Linked DNA regions of Homo sapiens: region 2 is linked to region 1. Evidence: promoter capture Hi-C in 16 types of primary human blood cells and fetal thymus (Javierre and others, 2016). All regions are on one chromosome and are shown on one strand. Each heading gives the region's core, a stretch centred on a gene start or on the middle of the fragment in contact. The rest is flanking DNA. Distances are from core to core; before and after follow the strand shown. Region 1 holds the start of PTGDR (prostaglandin D2 receptor). Region 2 overlaps RTRAF (RNA transcription, translation and transport factor).

What was found. The method cuts DNA at HindIII sites, captures the fragments that hold promoters and counts their contacts. A CHiCAGO score of 5 or more calls a contact.
Region 2: a fragment that was not itself captured here is called in contact with the fragment with the promoter of PTGDR in region 1 in 2 of 17 cell types (megakaryocytes and naive CD8 T cells); the score reaches 6.6 in megakaryocytes.

What each region holds. Positions count from the first base shown.
Region 1 is chr14:52,266,049-52,270,151 of GRCh38, reverse strand. PTGDR (prostaglandin D2 receptor) reads right to left here and starts at 2,454. Exons shown (of 2, transcript NM_000953.3): 1 at 1,492-2,454. The coding sequence starts at 2,337. The HindIII fragment of the contact is 7,987 bases long and covers 1-3,916 here.
Region 2 is chr14:52,008,979-52,013,102 of GRCh38, reverse strand. RTRAF (RNA transcription, translation and transport factor) reads right to left here. Exons shown (of 8, transcript NM_016039.3): 8 at 2,409-4,124. NID2 (nidogen 2) reads left to right here. Exons shown (of 22, transcript NM_007361.4): 17 at 1,420-1,549; 18 at 2,056-2,227. Among named protein-coding and RNA genes, the nearest start is that of RTRAF, 21 kb to the right of the region's middle. The HindIII fragment of the contact is 4,390 bases long and covers 1-4,044 here.

The DNA.
Region 1 (4,103 bases), core at 1,205-3,704:
CTCATCAAATTGATTGCAGAGATTCATTTGTAAGAATTATTCTTAACTCCAGGGAGATGTAAAACAGTGGCCAGGAAAGATTTGGCCTGTGAGCTGTGGTTTGCTAACTCCTGTTTTAGAGTGTGATTCTACAAATGTGAACCCTGAATCTGAGCTTGCATATCACCTGGGAACTTGTTAAGAATGAAAATTCTTTAAAAATGTCTGAATTAGAAACTCTGGGGAATGGGGTCCAGCCATCTTTTTTTCTAGAAGCCTTGCTGGTGATTCTGAGCTGGTGATTCTGAAGACCACTGCTATATGTCATCTGCGCCTATATCTACATTTAGATAGATATAGATTTATGTATTTGTTTATTTATTTTGGGGGCATACTGTTCCCACCCCTGCATGCTGATGCCCCAGACTTCTTTTTCCGCAAGCAGTAAGGCCTTCATTTAAAGGAAAATCGCTTTGTATTTCCCTTTCATTCACCATTGAAAGTAATATCCAAAATGGCTACATTCTGAGAAGAAATTTAACAACTTTCCTATTCACAGAAGTCTCAGGATTTCGAGAACGTGGGATTGGCAATGGAATTTCTGTAAGTATTGTTTTTGTTGAACAGGTACCTTGGGAGAAAGGAGAGGAGCAGCACTGAAAATGTTTCCTCAAGCCTCACCTACTCCCAGGTGTCTTGGCGGGGACTCCAGGAACAAATGCCTTCAAAATGAGGAGATAATTTCATTTCCATCGCTATCCTCATTACCAAATTGAAACCGGAGATAATGGCTTTCATGTCACCTCACTTGCCAAGATACACTCAAAACCCGTCAAGTCAGGTTGTCAAAACGACACCAGCAGCTAAAACATACAAAGAGCCTCGGCCTCCATCGCCACAATCCCTGGCGGATGCAGCACCAGAAACAGCAGCCGTGGCGTCTCAAAGTTTACGCACGCGTTTTTCAAAATTAAAACTATGCATCTGCAAATCACTCTGGCTGGCTTAAACCTCTTTTTCCCTTTCTATGCCAACACCGGGGAGAAGATCGTCCCAGACGCCATTCGCCCATTTCTGATACCACTGAAGTCATGAGCAGGTCTAACAAAATAAAACATCACCCAGCCGTCGGGAAGTAGAAGACTCCTGTTGCCAAGGAGAAACTAAGTTCTGCTCCTCCTAAGGCGCAAAAATGACCTCGAGATCTCCCCAGAAGGAAGCAGAGAGGAGGGAGTTCTGCCACATGGAGAGGGTTTTGCTGGGCTAGGGAGACACCGCCGGGCTCAGCCTTTCCCTTCCTTTCTCTAACTTTCCCTCATTTCGCTCCGCAAACTGAGTTATATCTCGGGGCTGTGGAAGGAATCCAATTTGGGGAACTCAGCAGCAAACCTTCCTGGCCCAGGGCGCAGCTCGCCTGGCGCCGCGTCCATCCCGATCCGCTCCACCCTTCCCGCCCCGCATCCGCGGCCGGACAGTCTCAGTGCCCTGCTGCCTCGGGGCCCGGGGACTCACAATTACGGGCAGAGAACACATAGTGAAGAGCACGGTCATCAGCGCCAGCAGCAGGAGGTGATCCAGCTCCTCCAGGGGCTGAGGGGACGCTTCCCTCCCGTCCGCGCGCGGCTCGGCACAGTCCCTGGTGCAGGAGCGCGGGTGCCGCTGCAGCCGCCGGTGCATCGCATAGAGGTTGCGCATGGCGCCGAGGTTGCACAGCACGGTGGCGAGGACCAGCAGCGCCATGAGGCTGGAGTAGAGCACAGAGTACCCCAGCACCGACAGCGAGCCCTCCTCGTGGACCATCTGGATAAAGCACCAGGTGCCGGGGCAGTACTGCACGAACTTCCCGAAGCCCATGAAAGGTAGCGCGCAGAAAGCCAGGGAGAAGGCGCTCACCACCGGGGCCACCAGTGCGCCCAGGCGCAGGGTGATGTGCCGTCGGTAGAAGAAAGGGTGCCCTAGGGAGAGCCAGCACTCCAGTGCCATGGCCAGGAGTTGCAGTGTCGAGGAGAGCCCAAAGAAGGACATGAAGAAGGCGAAGGCTTGGCACAACGAGTTGTCCAATGCGGGCGCAAGCACCCGCAGACTCCGGTTCTGAGCGTAGGCAGCCAGCACCACCGGGCTTAGGAGGCACTTGCCCAGCAAGTCGGTGACCGTCAGGCCACACACCAGCATGTAGAAGACCGAGGGCAGCGGGCGCAGTGGACGCCGCGAGCACCACCCCAGCCCCGAGCGCGCCAGCAGCCCCAGGGCCAGCAGGTTGCCCAGGAGGCCGGTGCTGAAGAGCACCCCGCCCATCACCGCCGAGTTGCCTTTTTCCACAGAGGTGGTGTTCTGGCAGCGGTAGAACGGCGACTTCATGGCGTGCGGGAGCAGAGGGCTGGAGTGAAGGCTGCGGAAGGGCGAGGGCCCCGGCGCCCGGGTGCTAAGGAGCCCCCGGCAGCTCCGCGCGCGGCTCGGGCGGAGAAGCTGCGCCACAGAAAAAGCTCCGAGGGCGGCGGGGTGTTCCCCACGGCAGGAACCTCCTATCTAAACTCGCGGGTCACACCCCTCTTTGAGAGGCGGGACGCTCTGCAGGGTGAGCGCCTGGCGCTGGCATTGAAGAGCGCGGAGCAGGCCAGTGAAGAGCTCGGCCCTGACGCGCTGCGTTCTCAGTAGAGACAGACTCTGGTGCCGAGTCGGAACGGCAGGAGGAAAATAGCCAGAATTCCAAGCACCCAACACCAGTCCTTCTAGCGAGGCAAGAGAAGAACTACTAAAGTGGAGGGGAAATTAAGCAGCAGCCACCTGAGAGGAGGGCAATGGTGCTGGTGTTTGAACTGGGGTGGCCAAGAACTCGAAAGATGAGCGAAGAGGGGAGGCTGAGAAAGGGCTTCTACCTAGTTGTCTTGAATTAGCTAGTCAAGGAAAGGTAAAGATAACTCACGTCTGGAAAGCCCCTGAGCCTTAGCTCCTCTTCTCTACTAGATCAGCGCAATTTGGGGCATTCACGGTCATCTCCATTGCATAGGCGAGGAAACTGAGGCCTTGGAAAGTTAAGTGATCTGCCCGTGGTGACAGAGCTACAGAAGTAGCAGAGCCGGACCTCTCACCCGATCTTCTATTTTGGAGTTCATCTGTCCTGTTCCCATGACTCCTCCTCCCAAGAAGTTGTCCAGATTTCAGGGAAGTGGTTTGTGGGAAAGCCAAGAGCCGGTGTTGGTCCTGGGTGCCATGAATCACATTGACTGTAGAGAGCTGGGGGGAAGGGCATGGTTAGCAGCACTGTTGCTGTCATCAGATAGGCCTGGGTTTGAGTCCAGGTTCTGCTCCTCACTGTGTGTGTGACCTTATGGGACTTGCTTAGCCTCTCAAGCAGTAACATCTATCTGGCCTGCTTGGCTCTTCTGAGGCATAGAAATAACACGTAAAGAGCAAGTACATAGAAAGTGCTCAATTCATGCAATCACCATGATTCTTATTTGATAGAAGGGTGTTTTGGTAGCTGATGTTTAACTGCAGTTTTTAGCATGGATTTTGAAATCAGAAAATGGTAGATTTGGCATAGAGCTTTCTCACTCCTCTGATTTGTGGCTACTAGAAAAAATTTATTCCTGTTTGGGCTTTGACTTGGCTGCATCATAAAGGCAAGGGAGTTAATTGTGATAAGCGTGATTTTATATCTTTAACTAGCATTCGATGCCCTGTGAGAGAAATTGGCTTTGAGTGTGGAATCTCAGTGGGATGACTAAGGTTTTGTTATGTAAGTGAGTAGATGATGCCTGGGCTTGAAACGGCTCATTTTTAGGCCTCATGCCAGTTCTGATGGACAGACTCAGGGAAAGAGCAAGACCCTTGGGATTTAGATGTGAAAGCCTGAAGGGTAGACAGAGAGGCTGCCTCCAGACTGAAAGTCTGGCCAGTAATTCAGGCCACAGGGTGGAAAAGAAGAATCTAAGCTTGGAATTAGATAGTTCTGAACTCCACCACTGGCTGTGTGACCCTGGGTTAGTTGTTCAACCTAATGGAATATGAGACTTATGCTGAACTTGTGGGGTTGTTGTGAGGTTGAGAAAACTTGAAGTGCTTTGGCATAGTGTAATAATAATAATAAGAGCTAATATTTATTGGTCCTGATGCAGGTTGGA
Region 2 (4,124 bases), core at 600-3,099, 260 kb after region 1:
TCCCGGGTTAATGGAAGCTCATTTGAATGTGTACTCTTGCCTGGGACAAACGACTTTTCAATTTTCAAATAAAAGTGTAGTTGACCTTAGGCCCGCCCCCCATATAAGCTGCCTGTTTTTCCACTGAAGCCAAATCCCGTTTTGTACAATCTTTCTTGGCTGACTACGCTCCCAGGGGGCGTAAGTGAAGCCAAGCCCCAGGAGGCTGTTAGGCAAGGCAGGAACTTGTATGACCTCAGGGACAGCCAGCTAACCCCTGAATGTTGGCTTTGCACATCTGCTGGGCTTCTCAGAGCAGGAGCCTGGATTGGAAACTGAATGAAGCAAGTTCTGCATGGAGTTGAGGAAAAATATCAGACTCAGCATTTTTTTTATTTTTATTATTTTTTTAAAAGACTTGTCATTTATTTAGCAATGAGGAGGAGAGACCTCACTAGCCAGAGGTTGGATAACCACTACTCCCTAGTTCCTTAACCCAATAAATTAGATTTTTTCCTTCTTTTGAGACAGGGTGTAGCTCTGTGTTGCCCAGGCTGCAGTGCAGTGGCACCATCTCGGCTTGGTGCAGCCTTGACTTCCTGGGCTCAAGCGATCCTCCCAACTCGGTCTCCTGAGTAGCTGGGACTACAGGTGCGTGCCACCATGCCCAGTTCATTTATTTTTTGTTTTTTAGACGGGGTCTCACTATGTTGCTCAGTCTCGAACTCCTGGGCTCAAGCAATCCTCCTGCTTTGGCCTCCCAACGGACAGGGATTACAGGCGTGAGTCACTGTGCCTGACTACACTTTCTTTAGTACAGGATATAACCAACATCTTGCCTCCTAAGAGTCAGGGGCAGGAGTATAGGTGATTGTACTTCAGGTAGAGGAAAGATCTCATTCACAGAGGAGGGGAGAGTAGATTTTGTTGGCATATAGTGGCAAATTTTATTAAGGCTCTGGGAAAAGTGCTGATGACATTGGGAAAAGATTCAGTTTTTACCCAGTAAAATATTAAAAACTTATTTTGCTTAAGGCCATGTCCTCTAATTACTGAAGGGGCTGATTTTTTTTTTTTTTTAAATCATCAGTCATAATAGCACCTATTGAAGGGCTTACTGTATGCCAATTACTGATTAGGACACTTTACAAGCACTTATAGTATTAATTTTTATAGCAACCATATGAGGCAGGTACACTATTGGCCTCATTTTGCAAATGAGACAAACGCATAGAGGTTAAATGCCCAAAGCCACATGGCTACTAAGTGGCTGAGCCTAGATTTCACCCGAGTGCCCACATGTCCAGCTACTCTGCTCTGTTGCCTGCAGGATCACAGTGCAGTGTTGCTCACTGCAGCTGTGCATGAGCAAGGCAGCTGAGTGTGAACAAAGGGGAAATGTAACCTAATTCTTCTAATTCTATGATTTGATGCACAAAGGGCTCCATAATCGTGGGAATTGATTACGACTGCCGGGAGAGGATGGTGTACTGGACAGATGTTGCTGGACGGACAATCAGCCGTGCTGGTCTGGAACTGGGAGCAGAGCCTGAGACGATCGTGAATTCAGGTCAGCAGCTTCACTCAGCAGTCTGCATTTCATTTGATTCTACAAAGTCACTTGTCTACTTTACGCCGAAGTCTCCCCTCGATTTTTCTCCATTAGGGGAGGTTAAGTTCTAGGCAAGTCATTTTATTGAGCTGTATAAGACTAGCCCCCTCTGTAAGCAAACACCTTCATACATACGGAATGAAATAGGTGATTCCTACTGTGCGCACTTCTTAAAAGAATTCATGGTAAGAATTCAGGGTGACGCCTTCGTTTATTCAGCCTGGCTCTGGCACTGTGGATGCCGGTTGTCATCAAACTGGTAGGTCTGCTGGTCTAGAAGCTAGAGGTAGTGGAATATGTAACAAAAGTACTTGTTTCTCTATTAACCTGGTTCTTGGGGACTTGGAGACACTTGGGCTTTGCTTTCCCCTGCTGACCCCCCTGCCCACCCGACCGTTGGAGGGCTTCAGGTTTGCCCTCCATATCCTGCAAACACTCCAGTCCTGACTTTGCTTTATTTCCAGGTCTGATAAGCCCTGAAGGACTTGCCATAGACCACATCCGCAGAACAATGTACTGGACGGACAGTGTCCTGGATAAGATAGAGAGCGCCCTGCTGGATGGCTCTGAGCGCAAGGTCCTCTTCTACACAGATCTGGTGAATCCCCGTGCCATCGCTGTGGATCCAATCCGAGGGTCAGCTGGGCTTCCCTAATTCTTCTCTTACCTGTAGATCCTGATGTGAAGCCCTTGGGTTTTAAATACAATGTGGGGAAGGTCAGAACAAGAGAGTGAAAGCTCAAATGCATTCATGTAACAAAGATTTACTGAGGATCTAAGAGGTGTCAGGACCTGTTCTAGGAAAAGACAAGGTCTGTTCTTTCATGGCACTTATATTTTATTAGGAGGAAACAAGACTGGTATAAACAATATTAGTCTGTGATGTGATATGTAGAAAATTCAGATAGTGTTGTGAGAACTAGGGCTACTCTGAATCAAATGATCAGGCGAGGCCTCAGCTGACACTTAAACTGGAAGTGAAGTGGGATTCCTCCAGCAGCACATTTAGAAACCAGGGTTGACGCTCACAGTAGGGCTGACCTACATCAAGTGACATTAGCCAAAGCTCAGACACCTCTGGCTTCAGTGTTGCTGTAGCAGAAATCAAGATAAACATTTTCCCTGTCTGTATAATTGCTAAGGTCATCAAATGTGACATACAGGATTTGTTCACTGTCTCAGTACTTGTTACAATCAGGGAGAATTTTTATATCTTGAGAAACTCTTGCCATGTTTAAGTGGAGTTTCTACGAAATGAAATTCCCAGATGCCCTTCAAATCAGTAAAGAAAACCTTCAGCTTTAATTTTCAGGTAAGTGCTTTTTGACTATGAAATACTTAGTGCAGTGCCTCAAAGGTGGTTTCAAACTTTGGGTTCTACACACAGGAAAAGTACCTGTATCCTTCTCTATTCCAGTTGACTTAACAGGAATTAATAGCCCTCTTAAAAACTCTTTGCATAGGCTTGCCTTTCTGACATTTGGACATTTGGAAGGTCCTTTTTTCTTTTTTTTTTCTTTTTTTTGAGACAAGGTCTTGCTTTGTTGCCGAGGCTGGGGTGCAGTGGCACAGTCTCGGCTGACTACAACCTCCATCTCCCGGGTTCAAGCAATTCTCCTGCCTCAGCCTCCCAAGTAGCTGGGACTACAGGCATGTGCCACCATGCCCAGCTAATTTTTGTATTTTTAGTCGAGACAGGGTTTCGCCATTTTGGTCTCCAACTCCTGACCCTGGGTGATCCACCTGCCTTGGCCTCCCAAAGTGCTGGGATTATAGGTATGAGCCACTGCGCCCGGCCCCTTATTCCTTCTTGGTGCTTGACCTGAAAACTGGGGAGAGCTGCCATCTTGTAGGCAATGAAACTTTGGCCATGTCTCTGGAGTCTGGGGAAAAAGCATACTTTTAAGCTGAAATCCACATCACAGCCATGAGTTTAAATATGAAAGTAGAACTTTCTTATCCAGACAGCAAATATAAATGCTAAAGGACTTGAATTTTTAATAAAAAGAAAACCCACCTTGAACCAGGTTGCAATATAACACATGTAATTACATCTCCTTCAACTGCGTAACAGAATGGTTGTCAAGCCTTCCTGCATATTTCTCATTTGCTTTCTATAGATTTCACCTTTACAACTTTCTTCCTCTGGCAATCCCCAAATAATTTACACCAAATATCTGTGTGAGCTTGTTTCAGACTTATTGTTGTTGATGATATTAAATCATTTTGGGGAGGAGACTGATCAGAAGCGATGAAGCAATGATATGCATGCTGTACCCTCTGGCCACCTCCACCTTAGCGCAAAGTGGAAACTGCTTTCTAGCTTTTGCTCTCAGCTTCTCTCTGCTTCATCTGTTGGGCATAAGGGATGAAATTCGCAACAGGGGAAACCTATGGTTTCTTCCTCTCCTCTCACTGAGGTTCTCTGTAGCCCAACTGATTTATTCAAAGCTTCTATAGCTTTTATAAAATAGTATTTTATAAAAAGTGCTTTCAACATTATTTCTGCTCTAACGATAAACCTGTTTGTTTC